Regions from separate parts of the Homo sapiens genome. Here all the other regions are linked to region 1. The links are contacts of gene promoters, found by promoter capture Hi-C in blood cells and fetal thymus (Javierre and others, 2016). All regions are on one chromosome and are shown on one strand. Each heading gives the region's core, a stretch centred on a gene start or on the middle of the fragment in contact. The rest is flanking DNA. Distances are from core to core; before and after follow the strand shown.

Region 1 (5,904 bases), core at 966-3,465:
GAAGCTATTGCTGGACATCTGACACTCAAAGAAGGAAGGAGCAAGGAAGAGATGCCCCAATTTCCCTTTCTACCCACCTTCTGATATCCTTGCCTTGGCCTTCTTTATGTCCAACCACAAAGCAGTCCTTAAAGAAACTGAGGTCAACCCTCAGAGGCATAGAGCTTAGCAAAGAAGGGCAGGAAATGAATCTGGGGGGCAAAGAAAATAACCAGCACATTAGTCTTTCTCCGGACTACTTTGAAAGGCCAGTCATCTAAAATGCAAACCTTCTCATACCTTGCACCCTCTTAAAATCTACCAGTGGATTCACATCATCTGTAGGACTAAATCTAAACTGGGATGTGCGACTTTGCCCCTGCTTATGGCTTCATTCCCCAGTTCCTGTCTTAGCCTACGGCCATTGTGAATTATTTCCAAATTCACCAGCATTCTATGCTCTCACACCTCTGTCCTTTGTCCATATTCTTTTCTCTTCCCAAGGCACCTTTCTGCATCTTCTCTGCTTGGCTAACTTCTTCTACTCAACCTTTGAGAATCAAAGACTTAGCTCTAGAATCACCTCCTTCCAAAAGTTTCCTGAAAAGTTTTTCCAGGTGTTTCTATGACTTCCTTATATAATTCCATCATTATACAGATGCTCCTTGAGTTATGTCCTGATAAACCCATTTTAAGTCAAAAATATATGTTGAAAATGCATTTTACTCTAATAAGCCCATTGTAATGAGAAAAAAATCATAAGTTAAACCATCAGTCAGGAACCATCCATTCTTAGTTGAGCGAGTGTCCTTTCTCCCTTGAGAAGAAGGATGTGCATTTTTGTGCATTTTTATGTTTTTTGTTTTTTTTGTTTCTTTTTCTTTTTTTTTTTTTTGAGGCAGGGTCTTGCTCTGTCTCCCAGGCTGGAATGCAATTGTGTAATCTCAGCTCACTATAACCTCCGCCTCCTGGGCGCAAGCCATCCTCCTGCCTCAGCCTCGTGACTAGCTAGGACTACAGGCGCATGCCACACACCCTGCTAATTTTTCTATTTTTTGTAGAGACGGGGTTTCACCATGTTGCCCAGGCTGGTCTCTAAGTCCTGAGCTCAGGTGATCTGCCTGCCTCGGCCTCCCAAAGTGCTGGGATTACAGGTGTGAGCCACTGCGCCTGGTCCATTTTAGCTGTTACCACAACACCCATCACCATTGCTGGCACATGGTAGGCAATCAATAATAATTTTTTTTCAAATTAATACATGAAAACTATTAGGAAAGAAGTAAAAAAATAACATAGCTATAAAGCTCTTTGAATGTTAGGTTATTGGGAAAAGCTGTGGAAAGCCAAGGATTTTCTTTCTCAAATTTATTTTTAGAATATTTTTTTCTACACAAAAGACCACAGATAAGGCAGAGAAAGATAAGAAAAAGACCACAAGCCCAAGGACTTGGAATTTGAATCATAAAGGTTCATTCTAGACTTGGGCAATATCTAGAACTTCTAGAACAATCAGTTTTCTAGAACATAGAAAAGATATTACCTTGGTGTTAGCTTTAACTCCTGCCAAATAATGCTTTAAATTATTTAAACTTTAAAAAGGTGTGTCAATGTATACATTGCAGGTAAATTCATGTTCCAGTAACTTTTGTTTTCTTTGTATGTTAAAAATCTAACTGTGGAAAACATTCTAGCTTGGTTTGAGAGTCCAATAATACAAAATGCTTTATTTCCTAAAATTGTTTGAGAGAAAACCAAAATGCTACCACACTGCAACAAAATACTAAAGAATTATTTGCTATGTCAGTTGACATATTTTTATTTAGATTTTGCCTAAGATGCCACATGAAGCCTATATAAGACATTCTTTCCCTAAAACTTACATATGTATGTACATATATATATATAATGTTTTACATCCTAAACAGTCTACTTCACGTCTTCACCAAATGTGCAGCAGCGTGATTCACAGGTTCACCACTGGAAAATAGACCTTAAAATTCCGCCAATATTGGGTCAAAGATCTTACACTATAACACATACTACACTGTGGGCACGGATCAACAGACGAGAATACTTTATACAGAAGCTTCTCGACGGAAGAAGGCCTTGGAGTGGGAAATCTAAAGGAGGGGACACACTACATGTCCCAGCACACCTTGCGACGCCCAGCGACCACAATTCCCAGAACGCACTGCTCGTCGCACGCAGGTTTTCCTTGTTGCCGGGGTTTGTAGTTCTTCTCGATCGTGTCAGTTTGTAAGGCGAGGGCGGAAGTTGGATTCCTGGCCTGAGAATATTAGGCGTAGTTTTCCAGTTTTTGGCAAAGCGGAAATACTTAAGGCCCCTGGGTTGACTGGGTTCTTTGTTTTATCTACCGGCTTCTGCTTTACGACAGGTAAGTCACGGAGGGGCTACAATTCCTCGCAGCAGGGCCCCACCTTTTATTTCTGGGAGCGACCTCGTTCTGGTGAGGCTATTTGTCCCTAAGCTCTCGCCGTAGCAGCCGCCGCCCATCCCTCTTTGTGTGCTTTGGAAAGCCGCGGAGCTGGTGGTGGCTACAGTTGGTGTTGGGGGCTTAGGCGAGGGACGTTACCGGGAAGTTGCAGGCGGGAGGACTCTTCCCCATCCAGTCACCTGACAGGTGGGTTGACTGTTCTTCCCTCAAGGCCTCCCTGCCTGTGTTCCACGTCGCAACTCGAAGGGCGGCTTGGCAGTTCCTGCTGACATCCCCGCCCGGCCCAGCTTTGGGGAGGAAAGGCGGGGAGACCTGGGTGCGGTGACTCATTGCGGCCCGGCGAGAGGAGTCCACTCCTTTCCCTTCTCGACCCTCCAGAGGCGGCCTGGGGAGCCTTGAGGCTTGTCCGGCGCCCACTGGCTTCTTCCGGACGCCCTGCCGTGGACCGCGCCCTCTTGGCCGTGACCCCAGGGGAGAAAGTGATTCGTTTTCGCCTTGCCCCATTTTACAAATTAAGGCCATCTCTACTTGCCTTGATAGTGTCTCCCCTCACCTTATGTGTGATGGAAAGCCCCCGAACACGGAGGTTCTAGCACAAAACTCTAGAGACTCTCTTCTCTTGAGTTTTAAGAACGTGAACATGTCGGTCATGGAGGAAGGCTCTGGCTTCTGTGAGGATGAGAGGATTGGTCAGCTGTAGTTCAGCTGGTCAAGACTTTGTTGTTGGGCTTTAAAAATGCGCTTATTTTAATATCAATTAGTGTTGGTATATCTGTTTTACAGTTGACGTTGAACAAAATATAATGTGCCTAGCGTAGCATACAGTTACGTATGGAAGTTCTCTTCACCAGCCGTTTGTATGGAGCTGTTTAGAGGTGTAGAAAGAGTGGAATAAGAAACACGGTCTCTTGCTTTTAGTTTGTTCAAACAAATCTTGGAAGATATTGTGTATATATTTCAGGTCTGCTATGTCAACTTTTCATCCTTTTCGTATGCTTGAAAATTATCAATTCGCTTGCCAGTCTTAATGGAGTTTAGTAGCTGAAATTTCCTTTATCCACTTCTTAGTAGGTGAATTTCTCCTCTTGACTGACTTACCTTTGTTCAGATTTAACAATTGTGCTTTTTAAGAGATTTCCCCTAACCTCTGGAAATACAGTTTTCCAGAGGTTATTCTCCTAGTTTTCTTGATCTAAAGCATTTAATACTTCACTTGTACAGAGACATTGAAAGAGATTGATCATTAGGCAATAAGTCAATCATGTGGAGAAGGTAAGGAGTTCCTGGCTCCTGCCTTATGCTCAGCTGCTAGGCTACTTAAAAAAAAAAAATCCTAATTCATTATTTCTTCCTAAAACTCAAGCTGAAGTAGTGTTTATGCAATTGGTTTTTGAAGCTCAGATTGTAATTGTGTCTACCGTATCCATTATTCATTAGCCAGTGTCAATTGTAATGTTAAGGTCATTCTGCTGGATGTTGTGAAGGCAACAAAAATAACTAAAAAACAGTCCCTGATTTCAAGTACATTACAATCTAATAGGGAACATTTCAGGTATGTCCACAAATAATTGTACTAAAAGTGCCATCAGAGGTATACGTAAGGTGTTATTGTGGAGAAATACAGTCATATGATTTGATAGCTAATGATGGTAACTCCTGCGTTTTGCTTTAGTATTACTACAGCACTTTTAGAACTTACAGGAAAGTTCAGTTTGACCTATTGTTTTTTATCAAGTTTCTATGAATGCAATAGAATTGGTAATAGTTTTGATCTGTGTCATATAGCTTAAGAGCTTCTAAATGCCAAACCATGTCCTCTGTTTTAAGAGCCAGTTTTGACCTTTATCTTGGGTACCTAATATATTGTCATCAAAAACTTTGAGACATTGTGTTCAGTTTGTGTATGCGAACATTAAAGTGCTTACTATGGGCTAGCTACTATGCTCAGCTCTAGGTAATATTTATTATATATATTTGTTTATACATTTTTTAAGTCTTAGTAATAATATATATGCTTCCTTTATTTTATCTTTTAAAAGTTTATTTTTTAGAGACGCTCTGTTGCCCAAGCTGGAGTGCAGTGGCATGATCACGGCTCACTGCAGCCTTGACTTCCTGGGCTCCAGCAATCCTTCCAAGTAGTTGGGACTACAGGCACATGCCACCATGCCGCCTAATTTTTTATTTTTCTTGCCTTTTTTTTTTTTTTTTTTTTTTTTGTAGAGATGGGGTCTTGCTTTGTTGCCCAGGCTGGTCTCAAACTCATGGCCTGAAGCAGTTCTCCCACTTTAGCCTCCCAAAGTAAGCTACTGCCCAGCCCCATTATTTTAAAAGTAAGGTTTTTGTGCTTTTTTGAGATAGCATTGAACTATATGGCCTTTCGGGACAGTTCTCTTCTTGGAACACTAGTTTTTTCAACTGTGCTGCTTTTACTAACATAATGATTATATGTTTCTAAGGTCACAAACATGTCAGACAAAAGTGAATTAAAGGCTGAGTTGGAACGTAAGAAGCAGCGACTGGCCCAAATCAGAGAGGAAAAGAAGAGAAAAGAAGAAGAAAGGAAAAAAAAAGAAGTATGTTTGATTTTTTTGCTTAAATAAACAACATAAAGTAATTGGGTTTTATTTCACATATTTATATATTTACATATAGGTTGGTGCAAAAGTAATCGTGGTTAAAAGTAATGGCAAAAATTATGATTGCTTTTGCACAAACCTAATAATTTCAGGATAGTTAAAAATCTAGCAGTTCTGACTGCAGACATAACACTGTAAGTGAATCTTACTTTAAAGAAGCAAGATATGTGAAAATGACAAAACTGATAAAATATGATTTTTAAAAACAATTTCGTATAGATTGATGCATTTCTAAAATTTGATTTATTAAAGTTCAATTTACAATTTAGTCTCCTAGGAATATATTTATTATAAAGTAAGGCGCATCTGTATTTTTTTTTGTTTTGGGTTTTTTTTTTTTTTTTTGAGACTGGGTCTCACTGTGTCACTCGGACTGGAGTGCAGTGGTTTGAGCACAACTCACTGCAGCCTCAACCTCCCCTGACTCAGGTGATCCTTCCACTTCAGCCTCTGGAGTAGCTGGGCCTACAGGCACATGTCACTATGCTAGGCTAATTTTTGTATTTTTTTGTAGAGACGAGGTTTTGCCATGTTACCCAGGCTGGTCTCGAACTCCTGAACTCAAACAGTCCTCCTGCCTAGGCTTCCCGAAGTGTTGGGATTACAGGCACGAGCCACCACACTCAGTCAAGATGTCTATATTATAATAACTCATAAATATGGTGTATATATATCATAACTTAGTTTGGACTTTGAATTTATCTGAATATTTTGCTAGTCTGAATTGCTAATTTGTCAGAATGGATAATATTAATGGCAAATAAAATATATGTAATAGATGATTTAATTGACTAAGGGATTTGTTCTTATCTCTTATGAGTTAGTCATTGA
Region 2 (5,788 bases), core at 2,226-4,725, 760 kb after region 1:
TCACCCAGGCTGGAGTGCAGTGGCGGGCTCTTGGCTTACTGCAACCTCTGCCTCTCAGGTTCAAGTGATTCTGCTGTCTCAGCCTCCCAAGTAGCTGGGACTACAGGCGCCCACCACCATGCCTGGCTAATTTTTTTGTATTTTTAGTAGAGACAGGGTTTTGCTATGTTGGCCAGGCTGGTTTGAACTTCTGACCTCAAGCGACTGCCCGCCTCAGCCTCCCAAACTGCTGAGATTACAGGCATGAGCCACTGTGCCCGGCTGGTATTTATACTTTGTAAATTGCCTTTGTTGTTCTTAGTATCCTATTTCTAAATCTGTTGTCTTTTTCTTTTCTTTTTTTTTTTTTAACAAAAAAAAAAAAAGGCCGGGCGCGGTGGCTCACGCCTGTAATCCCAGCACTTTGGGAGACCGAGGCGGGCAGATCACGAGGTCAGGAGATCGAGACCATCCTGGCTAACACGGTGAAACCCCGTCTCTACAAAAAATACAAAAAATTAGCCGGGCATGGTGGTGGGCGCCTGTAGTCCCAGCTACTCGGGAAGCTGAGGCAGGAGAATGGCCTGAACCCGGGAGGCGGAGCTTGCAGTGAGCTGAGATTGCGCCACTGCTCTCCAGTCTGGGCGACAGAGTGAGACTCCGTCTTTTTTAAAAAAAAAAAAAAGAAAAAAAAAAGCCTGAAAGACCTCTTTTGGTTTTGCTTTTTGCTTTGTCTTTGTCTTCCCGGCCTCTAAAAATCTGGGTAGCTGGTCTGAGGTGTTGGGACCCAGGACTTGCTCTCTTATTGCTCCACCACTGGAGCCTCAACCTCAAACTCAAGGTGGTGGCACCTACATTCCAGGCAGCTGAAGAAAGGAGCAAAGAACAGAGCCAAAGGCACATGCATGCCATCTTCTAAGGAAAATTATTGGAAGCAGCAGTGTGATGCTTTGTCACACGTCCTATTCAGCAGAACTGAGTTGTGTGGCACATCCAGCTAAAGAGGGAGGTTCAGTTGAGTAGTAGTTATTCAGGGTGGCCTTATGCCCAGCTAAAAAGTCTTTTACTATGGGAAAGAGGAGAACTGATGTTGGGTGACAGCCAGCACTCTCTGGCAGAGCTACTAAGCCTGTTGTTTCATTTATCTCATTTAGAAAATAAACTGTGACCATATTAATTTCCTTTTCAAAGCATTGAAAAATTTGTATTTCCTAAACTATTGGAGTAGTAAAATGGGTATGGTGACCCACCAGGTGTGAGCTCATTAAGTCTATCTTTTCTCTTCTTGTTTTTTATTTAAAATATTTTATTGAAAAATGATGGAATTTAAAGTCGCTTTTTCCTTTGCAGATGAACTATTTGATAACAGGTTTTAAGACATGAATCTTATTTTTTGAGTTAACACTGATAATATTTATGCTTGGTACACTTGAAATAGAAAAACCTGCTTGGTCACAACATGCTAGAATTTAAAATTATTAAAAGTGATGAATTAATGATAAAACTTTATTCCCATAACAGAAATTTACTAAGCATCTACTATGTGCCGAGCACTGTGCAAAGGTCAGGGATGGAAATGGTGAGCTCACAATCCAAGTGTGTACAGTTTCCTAGACTTGGTTTCTTGAAAGGAAAACTCACTAGAGATTGGACTCCAAATCACAAATGTCATTTGGCAACTGATAAGTCGGGTATCTGGTAATTCAGAAGCACAGGAAATGATTAAATGCCACATTTGACAAGATCTGGCAGCTGCCTTGTGAAACTGAAAGAACAGGATTGCCTGGAGACAATTATCAGAACTTGGACTTTCATTTTTCCTTGCTGCAGTAGACAGTGTTTTATTGTGGCTCTTTAAGAGATGTCTTAGTGGTATGAATTGCTTGGTCAGCTGAAAACTTTTCACCTAATTTAATTTTATTTTTAATTTTTTTGAGACAGAGTCTCACTCTGTTGCCCAGGCTGGAGTGCAGTGGCGCAATCTTGGCTTAGTGCAACCTCCACCACCCAGGTCCAAGCGATTCTTGTGCCTTGGCCTCTGAAGTAGCTGGGATTACAGGTGTGCACCACCGTGCCCGGCTAATTTTTGTATTTTTAGTAGAGATGGGGTTTCGCCATGTGGGCCAGGTTGGTCTCAAACTCCTGACCTCAAGTGATCTCCCTGCCTGAGCCTCCCAAAGTGCTGGGATTATAGGTGTGAGGCACCACGCCTAGCCAAATTTTATTTTTATTTTTATTTATTTATTTTTTATTTTGTGAGATGGAGTCTCACTCTGTCGTCCAGACTGGAGTGCAGTGGTGTGATCTCCGCCTCCCAGGTTCAAGCTATTCTCATGCCTCAGCCTCCCAAGTAGCTGGGATTGCAGGCGTCCACCACTATGCCCAGCTAATTTTTGTATTTTTAGTAGAGACGAGGTTTTACCATGTTGACTAGGCTGGCCTCGAACTCCTGATCTCAAGTGATTCGCCCATCTCAGCCTACCAAAGTGCTACGATTACAGGTGTGAGTCACCACACCCAGCCCCAATTTTATTTTAAAATGAGCTAGTTATATATTTATTTCTGTACTTACAAATTTCTGTTGAAGTGGAATTCTTGATCATTTTAAATGCAGGCCAGTTGCTTTTGTGATTTTTATGTTGTTGCTAATGTTATTCTTTTTTCCTTGAGGTTATTGAAATTCTTATGTTGGGAGGTAAGAAGCAAGTGTTGGTGGACCAAGGTCACACCAAAAATAGATCCTAGGGATAGAACCAGAATTCCAGAATTCTTTTCCTGTCTCCTCCTCCATTTTCCTGATCTGACCGCTCTTATTAGCATATTCCCTTTAAATAGTTGAAATTGAGGGTTGTGATTTCACATTTTTTCCCCCGGTACGTGGTAAAGACTTTGAGCTGAAGGAGTTGAAAGTTGTGGATGTTAAAAACACGTTCTGCTTTGGATGTTCCTTTACTGCATGAGCTCCCTTGCTCTTAATGAGACACACCCATAGTAAAGTCCAGACACTCAGTCTGGACTTAACTGAGTCAGGTTAAGAACTAGAACCCTCAGGCGCAAATGTCACATGAGCATCATATTCACTAGAAAATGGGTTTAGTTCTAGCATGCTCTTTCAAGGAGGCAGGAAAGAAGGCATCTTGTGAAATTTTGGGAAGGCCAGGATAAAATTGCTGGTCTTGTGCTCCAGTTAAAGGTAACAGGTATTCTTTGCCTTTAATTTTGCCTTTAGCACAGATCTCAAAGTACTTAATAGACGTTAATTATAACTGACCATGCTCTTGTAATAGATTTTTTTTAATGAGTAAACTGGGGTGTAGTGATGTCATCAAATCAAGCAGAAAGGAGACTCTTGGAGTAGTGGTTTAGAGCAAGATCTGGGAGCCCAGGAGTGCTAGGCACAACTCCTGGTTTGTCACTTACCAGCTGTGTGACCTTGGACAAGTTACTTGTCTTCTCAATTTGTGTCCACATTTGTAAAATGGGTAATGGCAATAGTGTCTCTTATATTATTGTCTCTTATAGTGTCTCATGTTATTAGGCAGAGTACCTAATATGAGAGCATAGGAGATGATAGCTGTTGGGGCATTATTAATAATAGCTTGTTTGCCTCCTTTGAAAGTAGGCTATGTTTGTGATTTCTTAGAAGGTTATTAGAAATCTAGTCTTTTGAATGTGGAGTTGTAGTTTATAGTCAAAAGAGAGCCTCAGCCTTTTAACCAACTTTCTGTGTAAACATGAAAATTCCGGGCTGGATTTGTTCCACTGTGAATTTTAGCTCACACTTGCCCAACTGGATTATCCAGTAAGTATAATTTAAAAATAGGGTTTGGTTTTTCTTCTCCAAACACCCTTAAGGTTACAAAAAAAAGCAGGATCTGCTTCCTGCCCTCAAGGAGTTTATAGCCTAGTAAAGTGAAATTGGGAGAAGTACTTGCCCTTGGAGATGATGAAACTTGAGTTAGGGGTCTTGAAGGCAAAATCGTAGGTAAGGCCTGGAGCTGGAGCTTGGTAATTGACAGTGTTTATGGGGTTGGGGGCAAGGTGGCAGGAAAATGTGAGCACAGGCGTCAAAGTCCTTGTGTGCCTGGGAAGTGAAAGGAGGAGGGGCAGCTCCTGGTGGATGGCCAGGGTGTGGCTAGATGGAGGAGGAGGGCTCCCAATTGTGGTGGGAAGAATGCTGCACAGTGGGAAGGGCACTGGGCTGGAAGCCCTACCCATGTCAGGGAATGTCTGGGCCTCAGATTTTTATTTTCTAGAATGAAGATACTTACCCCCCAATTGCTGAGATATTTGAATAAAAGTATATGTGAAGGATTTTGTAATTATAGAATGTCCTACAAATATGAGTAGTTCGTTTGCTACTTTTTTGGCGAAGAAAAATATTGGGATGCATGAATAATATCTACCTAAGGTACCTAAGGTTGTATTCATCCCATTTATTGAATGCCAAGGATATACCAGCTACTGCTCCAGATGTTGTATTCAGGGAACAGAAGAAGAGTCCCTGTGCCCATGGAGCTAACAGCATTCTAGGGGAGGAAAGATGGGACAGCTGACTTTCACGATCTCAGGTACTGATGAAGATTGTGAAGATTATTACATCAGGTGAATGTAGGGGTGATTTAGAGAAAGCTGGTAGCTAGGCTGTTCAAGGAAGGGCCTCTGTGAGAAAGGGGATGGTTGGCTGGGTGTGGTGGTTCACGCCTATAATCCCAGCACTTTGGGAGGTTGGGAGTTTGAGACCAGCCTGACCAGCATGGAGAAACCCCGTCTCTACTAAAAATACAAAATTAGCCCGGCATGGTGGCACATGCCTGTAATCCAGGCTACCTGGGAGGCTGAGGCGGGAGAATTGCTTGAACCCGGGAGGCAGAGGTTGTAGTGAGCCGAAATCATGCCACTGCACTCCAGCCTGGGCAATGAGAGTGAAACTTCCTCTCCAAAAAAAAAAAAAAAAAAAAAGAGAGAGAAGAGGATGGTGGAGTTAGCCCTGAGGAATGTGAAGGATGCAACCAGCGAAGATCTGAGTCAAGAGTGTTCGGAACCAAAGGAAGCGACTGCGGTTACTCTGAGATGGAAATGAGGCTGCTATGTTCAAAGGACAGAAACGGAGTCAGTGTGGCAGGAGTGCACACCTTAGAGGGTGCAGCTGGAGAGGCAGAGAAAGGGCCACTCACCATGGGCCTTGTAGAATGTGGCAGGAATTCAAATTTCATTCCATTGCCCATCGGAACCCACTGGAGGGCTGTAAGCAGAGGAATGATGTGATATGACCTGAGATGTGCAAAGAACAGCAGTTGCAAAGAACAGATGTGGAGGACGGGCTCGGGTGGAACAAGAGTAGAAGCAAACCAGTTAGAATGATACTATAGTTGTTCAGGTATGATGTGATGGTGACTCAGGCCTTTGTTTTAGGAGTTTGCAGGAGCTCAGAGCAGACAGTGAAAGTGGCCACCTTGAAGCAAAACACAAATGAAAGGGTTGATCACAAACTGGATTAAAGTTGGCAGTGAGAATACTGGAAAGGAACTACTGAGAAGTGGTCAGAGTAAAATGTGGAGGTAGAGCCTGTAGACTTTACTGATGCATTGGACGTGGGATATAAGGGCAAGTGAAGAATCAATGATGACTTCTAGGTTTCTGGCCTGAGCACCTGGGTAGATGGTGTACATTTAGTAAGATAGAGAAGGGGGCCGGGCATGGTGCCTCAAGCCTGTAATCCCAGCACTTTGGGAGGCTGAGGCAGGTGGATCACTTGAAGCCAGGAGTTTGAGACCAGCCTGGCCAACATGGCGGAACCCCATTTCTA
Region 3 (5,725 bases), core at 3,226-5,725, 730 kb before region 1:
CGTTCATTACTTACAACATCTCTGACATATAAATAAAGGCCAACATCTGGCCTTTATTTGTTTATGAAATGAAATATTTAATATGCTGTTTCTACTTTCTTTTCTATCCAGCTCTTAATAAAGCATGTATTTAGAAATAGAGTCCAAAATTAAACGTTAACCCCAGTAAATGTTTTAGATTTTTATAATCAAAGTCATCACAACTTCGTTAGTAATGTGACTTCTTATGGCATATTTTGTTTTTACACATTGAAGCCCTAGATCATTCTAAATAATGTTGGGTTGCAAATTCCATAATCCATAATGAGCTATTAGAAAAAAGTCAGTTTCAAGTTGTTGCTAACGTAAGAGTTCTTAATTTCTTGACATTCTTTTACATAGAAGAAAATTTAAATGTTGGTGAAACCTTTGTTGAATGTTTTATTTATGTTGATTATTAATATTACTCTTATAGGGCCATAGGATGCTTAAGCTAACATTAAATTTTTATTTACTAAGGAATGTGATTTCTATGTGTTCACAGAATAAAGACAATGACACTCTTAAGGATCTGCTGAAAGCAAACGTTGAAAAGCCTGTAAAGATGCTTATCTATAGCAGCAAAACATTGGAACTGCGAGAGACCTCAGTCACACCAAGTAACCTGTGGGGCGGCCAGGGCTTATTGGGAGTGAGCATTCGTTTCTGCAGCTTTGATGGGGCAAATGAAAATGTTTGGCATGTGCTGGTACGTATCAACTGTGAACTGTTACTGGAGGTTCATGAAGCAGTGTGGAAAGATGTTTTAACAATGGTTGTTTCTGGCTTAATAAGATTGTAAGGATATTATTAATAGGCAATTTTTGCCAAAAATCAGCGTTCATTGCTTTTTAAGTATGGATCAATTTTTTTTTAAGTTGAGGAAGAGAAGCAAATGTACAAGTTTAAGAACTTTTTCTAATGATTTATTCATTATAAGATGTGTTAGAGTAGATAGCTACAAAAATATTTTAAATATTTGTTAAATATTATGTAATTTTTATGCTCAGAAGTTTAAAATATATTCTGTAGTTTCTGACATCTGACACATCTCTAGCAAGACAGAAGTATACAGATTTAAAAAATCAACATAATTAAAAATTGGACTATAAACCTTGGAAGATTATTTTATATATATTAATTTTAGGGTGTGTGTTTATGTCATTCTAGGAGGTGGAATCAAATTCTCCTGCAGCACTGGCAGGTCTTAGACCACACAGTGATTATATAATTGGAGCAGATACAGTCATGAATGAGGTAATTCGTGTGTTTATTCATAGTGAGAACTATATAAAATTTTCTCATTGAGGTTTGAGTTGAGAAAGATATTTGCATGCTTTGCATTTAGAGTTAAAATTTCAGTCTTTGCTGATCAAAAATAACTTAAGCCTCAGGGTGTTAAATGGAACATCTGGTAGGTGTCTTATTAGGTATAGCTGTGAGGAAAAACACATACTGTGCGGCAATTGCACAGATTTTATGTGTAATATACAGAAATCTTTGCATACCTGAAGTCTAAATCAAATTCTCATTTTCAATTGTTCATTGATTTCATTTTCTCTTCCCCTTTTTGTTCAGTGACAGCATTAGCTCAGCTATATTACATCCTTTTCCTTGTCTCTTAGCTAGCGGAAGTATACATTGCTAAATCAAAAATGAGAGAAAAGGCTGGGCACAGTGGCTCATGCCCATAATCTCAGCACTTTGGGAGGCCGAGATGGGAGAATTACTTGAGCTCAGGAGTTCGAGACCAGTCTGGGCAGCATAGTGAGACCTTGTCTCTACAACAAATACAAAAATTAGCCAGGCATGGTGGTGCATGCCTATAGTCCCAGCTACCTGGGAGGCTGAGGTGGAAGGATCACTTGAGCCTGAGAGGTTGAGGCTGCAGTGAGGCAAAATCATGCCACTGCACTCTAGCCCAGGCAACAGTTAGAGAGACCCTGTCTCAAAAAAAGAAGAAAAAAAAAAGAGTGAGAAATGAGGTGCCCAGACAACCAGGTCTTAATAATGGGAAGTAAAAGCAGAATATGTAGAACTCGGGTGTAAAAGAATTGTACTAAGAGTGCCAACTAGATCTTAAGGAACTGGCCATAAAGCCTTGTATGTAGTAAGTAGGCTTTGCTTGAATTAATATATTGAATTAAACCTGCTTGTGATTTTTATGTCTGGGGCAGGGCCCAGAATCTGTATTTTTTTCTTAGATTTCTCAGGTGATTCTGATAGCCAGGTTTGAGACACACTGTTCCAAAGTATGGTAACGTGAAACATTTTCTCCTGTGACACTTTTGCAGTCTGAAGATCTATTCAGCCTTATCGAAACACATGAAGCAAAACCATTGAAACTGTATGTGTACAACACAGACACTGATAACTGTCGAGAAGTGATTATTACACCAAATTCTGCATGGGGTGGAGAAGGCAGGTAAGGTCATTTTTTAGACTAAGTTATGACTGCTTAAACATACCAGTCAGATATGTTGCAGACATTGATTGTTTTTATTTTGAAAGAAATTACTGGTTTATTTTAAGACTCCTCTTAAAAAAAAGGGAAGAGCTAGTCTAGAATATTGAAACCAATTTTTTTAAAGTACATATCTAGGGAACATAGTATATATACTATAGTCCTTTTCTTTACTAACCTAAGAGCTAACAGCATTTCTTTTTAATTGAGAAATTATTGCGCATAAGCCATAATTATAGAAAAGCCTAGAATTTGGAAACATTCCACATGTTTTCAAAAGTTCTAATCCCATGCTGGGAAAAGGATAACTTAGTTGCTGCAGGCAGGAAAAGCTTCCGTTTGCTCACAGTATCTTTACCCACACTACCTGAGATTCTCCAGCTGAATGTTTCGCCACAAGTATTCTAACTTGTTGCAGTTTGAGAAAAGTAAGATAGATGTGTCATCCAAGAGTCTGGCCTATATGGGGCAATACTTGATCAAATTATCATTGTCCATTGCCCAGGTTTGTAAATGCCCAGAAATAGGATCTATTCGAGGCATTCAAAATTTATTCATTACAAGAGGCACTTCCTCATATAAACTACATTTGCAGAGAAGCTGCTATATTTGAATGACAAATTTTCAGTTTGCAATAGAAAAATACCCCCTCTCTAGTTAGAAGAATACTCAGGTCAGATTAGTACCACAAGAGTGCCTGCTGAGCATGGAATCAAACTGGAGGAAGAGATTCTGTGGACAGTGAAGACCAACAGCAAAGAACATCACATATTCTTTCATTTTTAATTATGTTAACTAAATTTGGCTACATTCTTTGGAAGACATTTTTTCTTTTGATGTGTTTAATACTGTCAGTTGGCCATTGCATTAGCTAGGCCCATACAGAACATTTTCGTCAGTCTGCCTCTGACCATGCATTTGGTCTTTTTGTGCTTCTGTTTTTATTCCTTCCTCAGAGGCTGACCACATTTCATTTATTAAATCTTATTTCTCTTAATTTCATTCTTAGGCTGTCTTTAAGTTTGCCCAGGGTCTTGCTGTTGCCTCAAGTGCATTGTCTATTACCACTTAATTACTTTGACCAATAAGCACCTTGTTTTCAAATGTAGCTACCTCTGAAAGGCCATAATTGATCACTATAAATTATTTAATCTTTATTTCTCTAAATCCCAGTCCAGTGAGAATTGCAGGGTTTTGTTTGTTTGTTTGGAGACAGCGTCTTGCTCTCTGGGCTGGAGCACAATCATAGTTCACTGCAGCCTTTAACTCCTGGGCTCAAGCTGTCCTCCCGCCTCAGCTTCCTGAGTACCTGGGACTACAGGTGTACACACTGTACTTGGCTAATTTAGAAACTCTTTTTTAGAGATGGGGCCTTGCTTTGTTTCCCAGGCTAGTCTTGAACTCTTCGCTTCAAGCAATCTTCCCACCTTGGCCTCCCAAAGTCCTGAGATTATAGGTGTGATCTTCCATGCCTGGCCGAATTGCAGTTTTGATTGTGAGGGAAGAAGGGAAGAAGGAACAAATAATTGTGAGATGAAGCATCATTGTGCATATCAGACTGGTAAAGGAGGAGCTAGGCCTGGCATGGTGGCTCACGCCTGTAGTACTACCGCTTTGGGAGGCTGAGGCGGGTGGATCACTTGAACTCAGGAGTTCAGTACCAGCCTGGGCAACCTGAAGAACCGTTGTCTCTACAAAAAATACAAAAATTAGCCAGATGTGGTGGCATGCACCTATAGTCCCAGCTACTCAGGAGGCTCAGGCGGGAGGATTGCTTGAGCCCAGGAGGCAGAGGTCGCAGTGAGCCAAGATCATGCCACTGTGCTACAGCCTGGGCAACAGAATAATAAATTGTCTTAATAAATAAATAAATAAATAAATAAATAAAATTAAAAAGGCTGAAGTTGGCTACTGCCTGCTCACCCAGCTTTTGGTGGCAGTGGAGATAATAGATGATGTGGCAGGAGAAGGGCACAGAGGTATTCATGCATGGCCTACTCTGAAATTGTCAAGTTGTTTGGGAAATAAAAGACATCATGATGGAAACATAAGTTGGAACCTGATTATGGAGAGCCTTAAATACCACGGTCAGGACTTCCGATATATTTTGAGCAGTTGAGGCTGTGATAATTGTATCAGTAAGGGGTTTTGGGTTCAAATGGTAAAAACTAGCTGTCACCATCATAAGCAGATAACATACTTAATGATATGGATTAGCTCATATAATCAAGGAAACAGCTGAAGAACCAGATGTAGAAAGGACAGGACTCAGAAAACCTAGGGATTTAGATAGGAAGAAGTATTTGGCAATGTCATCAGCATTCATTCTACTAAACCCATTTTTGTTTTTTCTCTGACTCCCAAGGTTTGCAGCCATGGGCAAGAGAAATTGGCCTGGCTTTGACCATGAGCCATTCCCTTGGTTTGGGCAGGGCAGACACTCTGATTGACAATCCTACCAGCACTGCACACAACAGCAGAGAAGTAATTCCCCAAAGGGAGGAAAGAGAAAGGAATGTTGAGAAGACATCAGACTAGAAAGAAGCAATGTGATCACATCTTACTAGAAAAATGCCTCTGGTGGCAGTGGGAGGATGAAATAGAAGAGATCTGGGTTGAACATACATGACTGATTTGTGTCAGGTTCTGAAAGAGAACTATGGAATGTGTAAATGATGTCATCATACAGACGTGCTTAGAGCTCTTCAGTGGAAAGGCTGTATCGATGTCATTTGTTTAGCGAGTAATCATCAAATGTCTGCCATGTGCCGGCAGCTATGAAGGCAGTAAACAGACAAGGTCTCTGCCCTTCAGGACCTTAACATTTTGTTGGGGGAGATAGATAGTAAATAAATATGCAGTGTGTTGGATGGTGATGAATTCTTGAAAAATAAAGGAGTAAGGGTGATATCCACAGTGGAGGGCAGGGTGTTGTTTTCTGTGGGGTGGTCTGGGAGACCTCTGCTTAGATGACATTATCTAAAAGAATAGAAATTTGTTTGTTTTTATCTTTTAAAATCTCAAAGAAGGGAGTGCATGTTCAGGGCAACTTGAATCTATGCTCTTGGGTTACCCGCCCCCCCCAAAAAAAACACCTCAAAGAAATACAAGCTGTGATAGATAACAACGTTAAGAAAAAAATGTTTTTATAGCCTAGGATGTGGCATTGGATATGGTTATTTGCATCGAATACCTACACGCCCATTTGAGGAAGGAAAGAAAATTTCTCTTCCAGGACAAATG
Region 4 (5,915 bases), core at 1,598-4,097, 750 kb before region 1:
ACGATGAAATAATTCTTATTTAGTTAGACTTTTACTAAAGAGAGCTTTAAAATAGTAATGATCTAGTTTAGGAGAATTTTGTGTCTGCCTTCCTAAGACCCTCTGCCCCTGATTCTGTAATTGGTTTTCTTATCTTTGTTTTTAGAGGGAAAAGTGCTGTGTTAAATCTTAACATGTAAAAATGTCTTCCTTTCATTTGTTATTGCCTAAATGGACAGCGATATATTTCATTGTTAGATTACCAAGCTTGTAAACTGGAGTAACTGTGGCAGGAAAATTTTGAATAAAATCACCCATATTCAACAAGTTCTAGAACGATTTAATTAGAAGTTAGTTTTCTTGAATAACCAATTCCCTGGCCAATCTTGTTGTAGTAAAAACTTAATATGATTGACTGGGTTTTGAAATACCAATTATAATAACATTTATATCCACTGCTGTCTTTTGATTTCATGAGTCCCTATAATTCAGATAGATTGAGCTTTCCATTTTTTTCATTATTTTTCAATATCCATCTAAAAATATTTAGGGGACAGCCTTTAAATGGATTCAGAAGTTCTGCTATGAGCAGTGTAGTTCCTTTTTATGTGTTCTGTATGTATGAGTGCATATTTTCAGATTGTGATCATATTGTGTACCCAACTTCTTATCCCCACTCCAGAGTAACCACTGTGGACAGTTTTTTACATAGCCTTTCAGATATATTTTATGCTTATAAAAAAGTCTCTTTGGCCGCGCACAGTGGCTCACACCTGTAATCCCCACTTTGGGAGGCCGAGGTGGGCGGATCACCTGAGGTCAGGAGTTCGAGACCAGCCTGACCAACATGGTGAAACCCCATCTCTATTAAAAATATAAAAAATTAGCCGGGCATGGTAGTGCACACCTGTAATCCCAGCTACTTGGGAGGCTGAGGCAGGAGAATCACTTGAACCTGGGAGGCGGAGGTTGCAGTGAGCTGAGATTGTGCCATTGCACTCTAGCCTAGGCAAAAAGAGTGAGACTTCTTTTCAAAAAAAAAAGAGTCTCTTCTTCTTCCACCCTTCTCTCTTTCTTTTTGTTACCTTGTAATCATGATCCATGCTGTTGCACACCTCAGTCTTCTCAGTTGTTGACCTATCTTGGCAGTCTTTCTGTAGTAGCAAGTGGCCATCTGCTTCATGCTTTCAGTTAGCTCACGGTAGTCTTTTGTACCATAGATTGGTTAAGGAGTACCTCCTGGTGTTGAACATTTGGTTATCTAGTCTTCTGTTATTATAAGTACATATTTACAACCTTAAATCCTACTTTTTGTTTTCCCATAACATACATCCTTTTCCCAGATTACTGTATTGAATTTTAATGGTAGCTGTCTGTAGAAATGTTGATCTTTATTTTAGTAAATAACTACATTGTTTTCTGATCATCAACATGTGTCCATTAGAGAACATTTGGATGTGGTAAAAAAGTACAGCAAAGAACCTGAATTACCTGTAATCCCACCATCTAAAGGCAAATACTGTTGAAGTATTTCTCTTAGTCTCCTTTTTTTCCTGGGCCTAACATCGCCCCTTAGCCATGTTTCACAAAGATTTTGAATAATATGACGTATTCAAGGACTATATGGCCAAAAGTTATCTTAAGAGGTTAACATTACAACCAAAATAGCCAACAGCTGAGAAATTGTTAAACAAATCAGGGCCTAAACACAGATAGAATGCTACACATTCACTCAAAATTGTGTTTCAGACACCCTGTGTGTGTGCAGGTACATTTGAGTGCTTAGGAAAATAAAGCTGAAAGGTAATAAACAAGGTTGTCTAAAAAATTATTAGTGGATGGTGACTTTTTTTTTAACTTTAATATATTTTCTAGGATTTCTGAAGTGATCATTAAATACTTGTATAGTCACCCAAAGTGTAGATATGCAAAATTACTTTTAAAAAAGAAGTGGACTCCTAGTGGAGGATTTAAAAATTTGTGTAGAAGTCTTTTTTTAAAAAATAGCATTTCAGATTTCCTTATATAGTGGGTCAGATTTGTGCTCACTATGAATGGCACTTTTATTTTGGTCCTCCAATCCTAATGTAAGGCAGGAAAAATGTTAGGGCTTCTCAGTTTTTGAAGTTATTGTAAGTTACCCCCTACATGTGAACTATGTTTAATATCAAATTTTTGCCTATATTTTCCATTAATTATCCAGTGAACCCAACAAGACCATTTTCAAAATTAAATTAAACCAAAATATCCAACAGGTGAGAAATTGTTAAACAAATCAGGGCCTAACCACAGATAGAATGCTATACATTCGCTCAAAATTGTGTTTCAAACACCCTGTGTATGTGCAGGTACATTTGAGTGCTCAGGAAAATAAAGCTGAAAGGTAATAAACAAGGTTCTCTAAAAAATTATTAGTGACATAGTTCACAAAATTAAATTTTTGGAGTGACCTCACAGATGCCTATTATAGGATCTGCTTTTAAATTAAAATATTCATATTCTGTTCCACACTTAAAAGAGATGGGGAATAGCTGAGGGCATACTTTCTGGAGCAAGTATTCAGTGTGGAGACTGTGTGGAGTGTGGAGACATGGAAAATGGCATTTTCATTCTTTCTCATGCTTGCTTCTGGGAGAGATTTTGAGGTGATGGATATTTTGAAGGAAGGGTCATTGACATGAAATGTGTCACGAGTGTAATAACAGGTTTTTATCTTCTGAGCTATTTGCTGCAGACTGGGTAACATTTAGGTGTTCTCAGAGAAGCAAGTGACTGCAAGTGGAATTACTTCTATAGAAAATGCAATGCCTACACCATATCTTCTATCATATGGAACTGCTCTTTTTATATATTTTTTTCTATTTTGTCAGAGATGAGGTCTCCCAAAGGTACTGCTCTTTTTAAATGGTGCCTAACTAACCTATCTGCAATCCTGTTGTGATGGGATTTCAATTTAGTACTTATTTTGAAAAAATTAATTTCTGATATTCAATAGTCATTGTCTTCTTTATTCTTCTAACAGTCTTTCTCAAACTTTTGAAACTCATACCCTGTTTTTTTTTTTGTTGTTGTTGTTGTTGTTTTGTTTTGTTTTTTTTGAGATGGAGTTTCGCTTTTGTTGCCCAGGCTGGAGTACAATGGCGCATCTCGGCTCACTGCAACCTCCCGGGTTCTCCTGCCTCAGCCTCCCAAGTAGCTGGGATTACAGGCACCTGTCATCACGCCCAGCTAATTTTTGTATTTTTAGTAGAGGTGGGGTTTCACCATGTTGGCCAGGCTGTTCTCGAACTCCTGACCTCAAGTGATCCACCCGCCTCCACCTCCGACAAGTGCTGGGATTACAGGTGTTAGCCACCACGCCCTACCTCATCCCCTAACACAGAAATCTCACTCTGGCTCCCTTCTCACTCATTCTGGAAACAATGGGTAAAAAGAAAACAGTAGGGTTATTTGGTATTGTTTTCTATATATAAAGTTATAATTGTGAAACCTGAAGAGTCTGACCCTGCCCCCAGAATTGATCTCTCCTTTTTTTTCTTTTTTGTTTGTTTGTTTGTTTGTGAGATGGAGTCTCGCTCTGTTGCCACGGCTGGAGTGCAGTTGTGCAATCTCAGCTCACTGCAACCTCCGCCTCCGAAGTCCAAGCAATTCTCCTGCCTCAGCCTCCAGAGTGGCTGGGATTACAGGTTCCTGCCACCGTGCCCAGCTAATTTTTGTATTTTTAGTAGAGATGGGCTTTCACCCTATTGGTCAAGCTGGTCTCGAACTGCTGACCTCAGCTGATCCACAGGCCTCGGCCTCCCAAAGTGCTGGTATTACAGGCGTGAGCCACTGTGCCAGGCCCAAAATTGATCTTTTCTAATAAAAGGCCCAGAAGTTGTTTAATAAACATTCTTTTAAATTGCTTTCAAATGTAGGAATCAGGATGTCTCAGTTTATTGAAGCCATGGAATACAATGTATATAAATCTTGGGATACTTTTAGGAATTATATCATTGAACATAAACTTTTTCTAATATTAATAGGCCTTGAACAAATTAGTAGTTTCATGTTGATTATATACACTTTTTTTTTCTTTGAGATGGAGTCTTGCTCTATCACCCAGGCTGGAGTGCAGTGGCGCGATCTCAGCTCACTGCAACTTCCGCCACTCCAGTTCAAGTGATTCTCCTGCCTCAGCCTCCCAAGTGGCTGGGATTATAGGCACCCACCACCACACCCAACTAATTTTTGTATTTTTAGTAGAGACAGGGTTTCACCTTATTGGCCAGGTTGGTCTAGAACTTCAGACCTCAAGTCATCTGCCCACCTCAGCCTCCCAAAGTGTAGGGATTTCAGGTGGGAGCCACTGCACCCAGCACCCCCAACGCCCCACCTCTTTTTTTTTTTTTTTTTTCTTTTTTTGACACAGGGTCTCACTCTAGGCTGGAATGAGTAGCACAGTCTCCACTCACTGCAGCCTCCAACTCCCAGGCTCAAGTGATCCTCCCCCCTCTCAGCCTCCCCAGTAGCTGGGACTACAGGCACACACCACCATGCCCAGCTAATTTTTTGTATTTTCGGTAGAGATGGGTTTTTGCCATGTTGCCCAGGCTGCCCTCGAACTCCTGAGTTCAAGCAATCCACCCACCTCAGCCTCACAAAGTGCTGGGGTTACAGGCGTGAGCCACTGCGCCCGGCCTGTATATGCTTTCGTACTTATGTGATGAGGTGTGTTTTAATGCCTGCGCTATCATCCTCAGGATTCTCACTGGGGGAGATCTGCTGTTAGTGGTTAATTATGGTTTCAGTAAGTAGTAGAGTGTACAACACTGATTCTTCTGCCTTCTGGGTCAGATACTAACAGGGCTTTTTAATAATTCCTCTGCAAATTTTATAAAAATTGAGCTTAGAATAACCGTTAACATCAGTGTGTTCATTTTGCTTACTTTAATATTCTATTGAAAGGATTATATATATTGATTGATTCACTATAAAATACTAATGTAAACTAGGAAATAGAAAGTTTGATATGTGCTTTTGAAACTGACTTTTTTTTTTTTTTTTTTTTGAAGCAGGGTCGCACTCTGTCACTATGGCTGGAGTGTTGTGGTGTGGTCATGGCCCACTGCAGCCTTGAACTCCTGGGCTCAATTAATCCTTTTATCTCAGCCTCCTGAGTAGCTTACAGGCATATGCTGCCACGTCTAGCCAATTTTAAAATTTTTTTGTAGAGAGATCTTTCTATGTTGCCCAGGCTGGTCTTGAACTCCTGGGCTCAAGCGATCCTCTCGTCTTGGCTTCCCAAAGTGTTGGGATTACACTTATGAGCCACCACACCTAGTCCTAAGTAGTTACTTTGAGAGACTGTACATTTCCCTGTTGGCATTGCAAATAAATTTACTGTAGCATGAAGATAATTATTCTGGGGTTTTGTTCTCTCTTTTAAGCATCAATGAGAGAAGGCTCAAGCACATTGTCAGAAATAAGGAAGCTTAAGCCGGGCATAATGGTGTGCACCTGTAATCCCAGCTACTCCAATCAGGAGACTGAGGTGAGGTGGGGGCCCAAGAGTTTAAGACCACGCTGGGCAACATAATGAGATCCGGTCTCAATAAAAGCAAAATTGTCACTTGACCAAGGACTTTGAGGCTGCAGCGAGCTATCCTCACACCACTGCACTCCAGCCTGGGTAACAGCAGCGTCTCTAAAATTAATTAATTAATTCGTTAATTTTTTTAAAAAAAATTTAAGGCTAGGTGCGGTGGCTCACGCCTGTAATCCCAGCACTTTGGGAGGCTGAGGCGGGTGGATCACCGAGGTCAGGAGTTCAAGACCAGTCTGGCCAACATGGTGAAACCCCCTCTCTACAAAAAATACAAGAATTAGACCGGCATGATGGCGCGTGCCTGTAATCCCAGCTACTCAGGAGGCTGAGGCAGGAGAATCGCTTGAAC
Region 5 (5,303 bases), core at 2,589-5,088, 740 kb after region 1:
ATGCCTTTGAAAAAAAAAAAAAAAAAGATGGGGGTGGGGGCGGGAATTAACCAAACACCTGTTCGCTGGACTAGATCAGCTGAGAAAACAAGTCTGAGTGATGTGCCCAGCCCCCAAAGTACTCGGCCGCACCCGAGACCCGCTCGGCTCCTGCGTTGGGCGGGCACAGCCAAGGGGTTAAAGCAAAATGTCCGATCTGAGCCTGGACTTTGCAAACAAGGTTTGTAAGGGACAACCCCCCACCGTAGCGGTAAACCTCCCAGGAGAAAGAGGAGACCGGCACTACTGGCCTCTCCTTTTATTTCTTAAACAGTGTTTGGTTCCCACATGATCGGCTATTTAAGCCGGAGAGGGTATTTTGGCGCTTAGTCGCCTTAATCGCTATGGGGTTGCATTCTTCATCTGTGCTACTGAAAAATAGGCTGTAGCAACAAAAGGTCTCCCCTCCCCACCCAGGCCTTGAGTTGAACTAAGGACCTTCCAGGACCAACAGACCGGAGAAAGCAAAGTGCAGCCACAGTGAAGAGATTTTGTGTTTAGGAGAGGCGAATGGGATTTTAGAACTGGAGGAAACCTCTTGATTTCAGCGGTTAACAACTTTGGAATTCGTGAATGTTGCAGCCCCTGAATTTTAGTCAGTTTTTTTTTTTTTCTGATAACACCTGCTAGGTGAAGCACAGAAATTAGCTGGGGGTGGGGAGGCTCTAGGAGGGTGGTCTGAGGCTATATGCCTGGCCAGCTGCTTATACTCTGCTTTCTCTCAGAAATAATTGTTGTTAAGCTGTAAATCTGAAATGAAAGGTTCCTGTTAACTCAGTTAATAGATGACGTTTATTGTCTCGGAATACTTGGTGTGTAGAATTTGAGCTTGTTAGTGCAGAAATGATTGTGGGCCAGCAGAGGGAATTCATTCTCCTGGGCATTCTCTCTCTGCACCAGAGCCCCACTGAAACCGGTGGCTTCCTTGAAATACTTGTTCAAGCAAAAAGTGTGAAGGGAAAGTACTGGGACAAGAAATATCCTGGCAGTGGAGATTTGCGAAACGTGACTTTGCCAGGAATCTGTGTCGTGAAGGTTAGCAGCATGCTTGCTAAAACTTGTTACTGCTGCTGGGCTTCTCTGGTATTAGAGCTGAGGCAACTCCTCCCGAGGTAAGGATAAGCCTGCAATGGGGTCTGATGCCTTCTAGGAAAGCTCTTCTTAGCAGCTGACAGAGGGGAGAGGCCCCGTATAAGGAGACTGTATGTTTCCTAGAGTCCAAAGGCAGTGACCACACTTTAAAGAGGCTGTGGTTTATGTCACGTGCTGCCCACCTCCATGCTTTTGTAAAGCTTTATTCCAGCTTCAGGAATAGCATTGGTCTTCCCAGGAGAACCAGCACACACAGGCCATAGCACAGGTCAGTTGTCAACCTTTGACAGTAAAGAATGTGGGTGTAAATGGCAGAGCCAGTAAGACTGAGAAAACTTCTGGACCAGCTTCCTAAACTCTATGGAAAAACTCAGTGGGGGTCTTTCAGGGACCTGGTGGGAGAGAGACCTAAGCTGAGATTCCTTCTCGGCCTTTTATTAGCAGCTGTTAATTTACTTTGAGCTTTAATTTCTTTATCTGTAAAATGGAGATATTACTGCTTACTGGGGTTATTATGAGGATTAAGAGATAATATGCAAAGTGCTTAATGCCTGTCTGGCATGGGTACTTGCTGACTAAATGGTAGCTGTTAATGATCATTTAAAAAGCAGTAATTGTGTACCTACTGTGTGTCAGGTACCTTACAAGGTGTCTTAAACATTCTGTGATTCTAAGATTGCCTGAGAGTAAAGCCAAAGGTGGTTGTTTTTGGGTAATGATATTTTAAACTCAGTCATATTTATGAAACCCATGTTCAAAGCAACTTAACTTTAATAGGTCTTAATTAGACTTATAACAAAAGTGAGTTTAATGAACAGAGGACTTTGAGGAAGGAGAAGTAAAATATCAGATGCATGGGACGGTCAGATAAAAGCACGATCATAGAAGACCTATCATAAATGTTTGTAGTTCAAATTTTCTATAGTGCCTTTAACTATTCAGTCACATTTTAAACTCCAGTTATGACTTTTGCAGAATAATATTGTGTCAGAGAGCCCCAAAACATGTCGGGTGTTCCTAAAGCTTTGGAGACTATAAAATTGAAGTAGATACCATAAACTTCATCCAGGTTTTCAGGCTGTATATTAAAGAAGTTTCGGACTCCAAAAGATTACTCAATGGTCAGCCAAGTTGGTCCGCCGAGTGACTGAGGTCAGGGTCTGAGCACCTTGGACTCTTTAATTTCTCTTAGGTAGTTAAGATTGAGTCATTCCCAGAGGTGGAAGGTATGTGATGATGACTGTGGGTATATCCAGCCTATGAATCATCACTCTTAGCTCTTCTGGGAAGAGATGGATCTATATATGATCACAGGGAAGAACCTAGAAGAAGGAGATCTATAAGAGATAGTCTCATGAAGTCATTTTGGATTTCTGCCAACCCTCATTTTCTTCTTTATGGGGTCTCTCTCTCTGACCACCACTGTCTTCCAGAAATGCTCCAGGCCCGCGGTCTGTTCTGTTCTGACCCTTACTAGGTTTGTTCTTGACTTTTCTCAGACTTGTCATGTTCCATCTCTTAAAATCATATTTTCTGAACTAGAGATCATCTAGTCCAACTGCCTCTTTTTACAGATGAAGAAACTGAAGCTGAAAGTTCAGCTTGAGCAGAATCTTAACAGAATGTGGATTTGAATCTCTGACCCATGCTCATGCCATTTTTAAATGGAAAAGCCAGAAATGTTCTTCAGACCTAGAGAAATCGGCAAGCATCTGAATTTTGGAAGTGTACTATATTGTGTTGATTTATCAAACTGCTTCCCATATGCATAGGTCAGGGCTATCTATTTAAATATTGGTGCCTGGACTCTTACTATTGACTCTATTCCAGCTGGCCTTGGAACAAGTTCTGGGTCCGTCCTTCTTTGCCTGCCTCCACCCCATTCCCTTCTGAAAAAGCCCAGTGAAGTGTGGCTGTAGCTAGCCAAGAATCAGAGCTGTATTCAGGATGTGTACCTAAGCACTTGCTTCCTTGCATTTATTCACTCGGAGTGCCATGTGGCCCAGGGCCATCTTCCAGGGATTGCTGGGTCACCTTGAATGCTAAGAGTAGAGAAAAAGCCAAAACGGGCAGCGAGACTTACAGGAAGTCTTAGGACTCTGCAAGAAAGCAGAAATAGGCAAGTTTAATTTTAACACAGGCTGGTGTGAGACCAAGTAATGACAGGGTTGGGGAAAAAAAGGGTCAAAGTATTTATATGGTATAAATAATTTGTTGGGGAAGTCAGGATAAATGCTTATATAAAAGGATTCCTTTATTATAAAGAAGTGGTTATTCTGTGTTCTCAGTTATATAGACTCTCTTAGCATAACAATATATTGAGATTTAATTTAAGCTTTCATAACCAAATAGTACCAGAATTATGGCGCATGGTTTCCTGAAGACCTCGGCTCAACATATTACTGTGGACAGTGAGGCCAGTGAATTATTTGGTATTTTCAAGAGGGACAGTGAGACAAAACAGAAAATACTGTTGTAAGCTTAGATGACAGGGTCAATTGTGCCTGAAACACTGATTTAGTGCTGAATCAGCCCATTTTAAGAATATAATCATAGCTTAAGAACCAGTTTAAAATTTCCCCATCCTACACTAAAGCAATGTCTTTAACTCCTTTGGATGTCTGTAGCACATTGTGTCTGACAATTCTGATGTTTTGTGCTAAACTGTGATCCACTATCTTTAGGACATGATCTAATCTCTCCCAACTGGATTGTAGGTTATGTGAGGGCAGGGGTCTTACATTCATTTCTTTGCCTGCTAGCACCTAGCATATGCCTTGCAAATACAATAGAGACTGATATTATACACTCAGTTTAACCTGTGACATCAACTCTTCCTGCTGAGGGTGGAGAGAGGGAGAAATCCCTTTCTTTAACCCTTTGCCCTTCCTTGCTCAGGCCTTGGTGTCTTCTGCCTCTGAGGAAACGGAATCTGTAAGCTTAGCAAAGAAACGCACAAGACGTTAATTCTTGGTTTTTGATTTTTCAAAGGCGGGGGGTTCCAGCTAAGGGATTTTCATGAGTGTTTGTAAATTTCACCTGGCTTTTGCCCTAAAGGCAGACTTTAGAACCTAACCCCAGAAATACAGGCTGACCTACACTGCAGTGGGTACTCGGGACTTGCTGAGGTGGTTGGTTGTTATGAGGCTGGACAGAGAAGGATGACTGTGGAATAGAGATCTTTCTGAAAGCAACTTGACAGGGGTGTGGGGGTCAAATGGAAGTGTGCAGTACACGTGTGAAGTCACTTGTGAATTGATAGCGGCAGGTTTATTTCTTCAAGGATAGTAAGGGAATCTTGGATATATTTAACTCTTTCGGTAGGATGGTGGGAAGGCTGCTTACCTGCTCCGGGGGTGAGCCTAGGAGCCATAGCATGGGATCTGGGGATCTGTGTAGCACCCCCGCTGGCTCCTGGGAGGATGGTAAAGATTACGTACTGCAGCAGTGGGAAGTGGACGTAGTCTCAGCCCCCGGTGCCCATCTTCCCTTTCTGGGCTTGGGTACAACTCTGGAATCAAATAACTTTATATCTGGAAGGAAGCTTAGGGGTTCTGAAACCTGGCTGGTCTTCAGGGTAACTACTTGGGCAACCTTTTATAAAAGTGTGATTCTCAGCCCAGCCTAGATCTGTTACGTCAGTTTCCATAAGTGTGCTCCAAGAAGCTGTTCTTAAAGTCTTCTTCGTTTGAGTCAGACTAGCTTTTCTCCTTTACACAGAAGGCAGAGTGTAATGTAGTGACTAAGAGCAGAGCCTAGAGCCAGGTAGGATCAAACCCTTTTCTGCCATTGACTAGCTATGATTTTGTGCAGGATTCCTAACCTTCCTAGGCCTTCCTGCCTTCAGCTGTGAAGCTAGTATCCTCGCACATTAGAATAGTCCTGGTCCAGAGTGAGCATTTTGTGTTTGTTAAATAGATGAGGAAACCAAGGCTGTAAGAGGTGCAGTGGTGGCGGCATGTCTAGCAAACTTGGTCTTCAATCTGCATCTTCCCTGCTTCCCGGCCTGTGCTGTGTATGTGCTTTCTCCTTTTAGGTTTGGTTTTCATCACGTTTAAAGGTTTGGTTTTCATCACATTCTCCCTTTCTTCCATTCCACTCTCCAGTTGAAAAGTGCATCTCAGAAGAGCCATGCCTTCTACTTAGCAGCCCTTCGTAGCTACTAAGCCATA

What was found. The method cuts DNA at HindIII sites, captures the fragments that hold promoters and counts their contacts. A CHiCAGO score of 5 or more calls a contact.
Region 2: a contact is called between a fragment that was not itself captured here and the fragment with the promoter of DYNC1I2 in region 1, in 2 of 17 cell types (fetal thymus and activated CD4 T cells). The highest score is 6.0, in fetal thymus.
Region 3: a fragment that was not itself captured here is called in contact with the fragment with the promoter of DYNC1I2 in region 1 in 1 of 17 cell types (total B cells); the score reaches 5.1 in total B cells.
Region 4: a contact is called between a fragment that was not itself captured here and the fragment with the promoter of DYNC1I2 in region 1, in 4 of 17 cell types (fetal thymus, total B cells, naive B cells and 1 more). The highest score is 7.2, in fetal thymus.
Region 5: a contact is called between a fragment that was not itself captured here and the fragment with the promoter of DYNC1I2 in region 1, in 5 of 17 cell types (fetal thymus, total CD8 T cells, naive CD8 T cells and 2 more). The highest score is 6.5, in fetal thymus.

What each region holds. Positions count from the first base shown.
Region 1 is chr2:171,685,254-171,691,157 of GRCh38, forward strand. DYNC1I2 (dynein cytoplasmic 1 intermediate chain 2) reads left to right here and starts at 2,216. Exons shown (of 18, transcript NM_001378.3): 1 at 2,216-2,374; 2 at 4,894-5,010. The coding sequence starts at 4,903. RefSeq lists an enhancer at 2,217-2,386. The HindIII fragment of the contact is 4,493 bases long and covers 2,064-5,904 here.
Region 2 is chr2:172,445,003-172,450,790 of GRCh38, forward strand. All of the region lies in intron 1 of ITGA6 (integrin subunit alpha 6), which reads left to right. Among named protein-coding and RNA genes, the nearest start is that of ITGA6-AS1, 18 kb to the right of the region's middle. The HindIII fragment of the contact is 8,425 bases long and covers 1-5,788 here.
Region 3 is chr2:170,949,016-170,954,740 of GRCh38, forward strand. It overlaps GORASP2 (golgi reassembly stacking protein 2), which reads left to right. Exons shown (of 10, transcript NM_015530.5): 3 at 524-727; 4 at 1,189-1,275; 5 at 2,313-2,443; 6 at 5,635-5,725. Among named protein-coding and RNA genes, the nearest start is that of GORASP2, 23 kb to the left of the region's middle. The HindIII fragment of the contact is 3,326 bases long and covers 2,813-5,725 here.
Region 4 is chr2:170,931,216-170,937,130 of GRCh38, forward strand. All of the region lies in intron 1 of GORASP2 (golgi reassembly stacking protein 2), which reads left to right. Among named protein-coding and RNA genes, the nearest start is that of GORASP2, 4.9 kb to the left of the region's middle. The HindIII fragment of the contact is 5,206 bases long and covers 245-5,450 here.
Region 5 is chr2:172,428,537-172,433,839 of GRCh38, forward strand. All of the region lies in intron 1 of ITGA6 (integrin subunit alpha 6), which reads left to right. Among named protein-coding and RNA genes, the nearest start is that of ITGA6, 3.6 kb to the left of the region's middle. RefSeq lists enhancers at 1-362, 1,787-2,986. The HindIII fragment of the contact is 459 bases long and covers 3,610-4,068 here.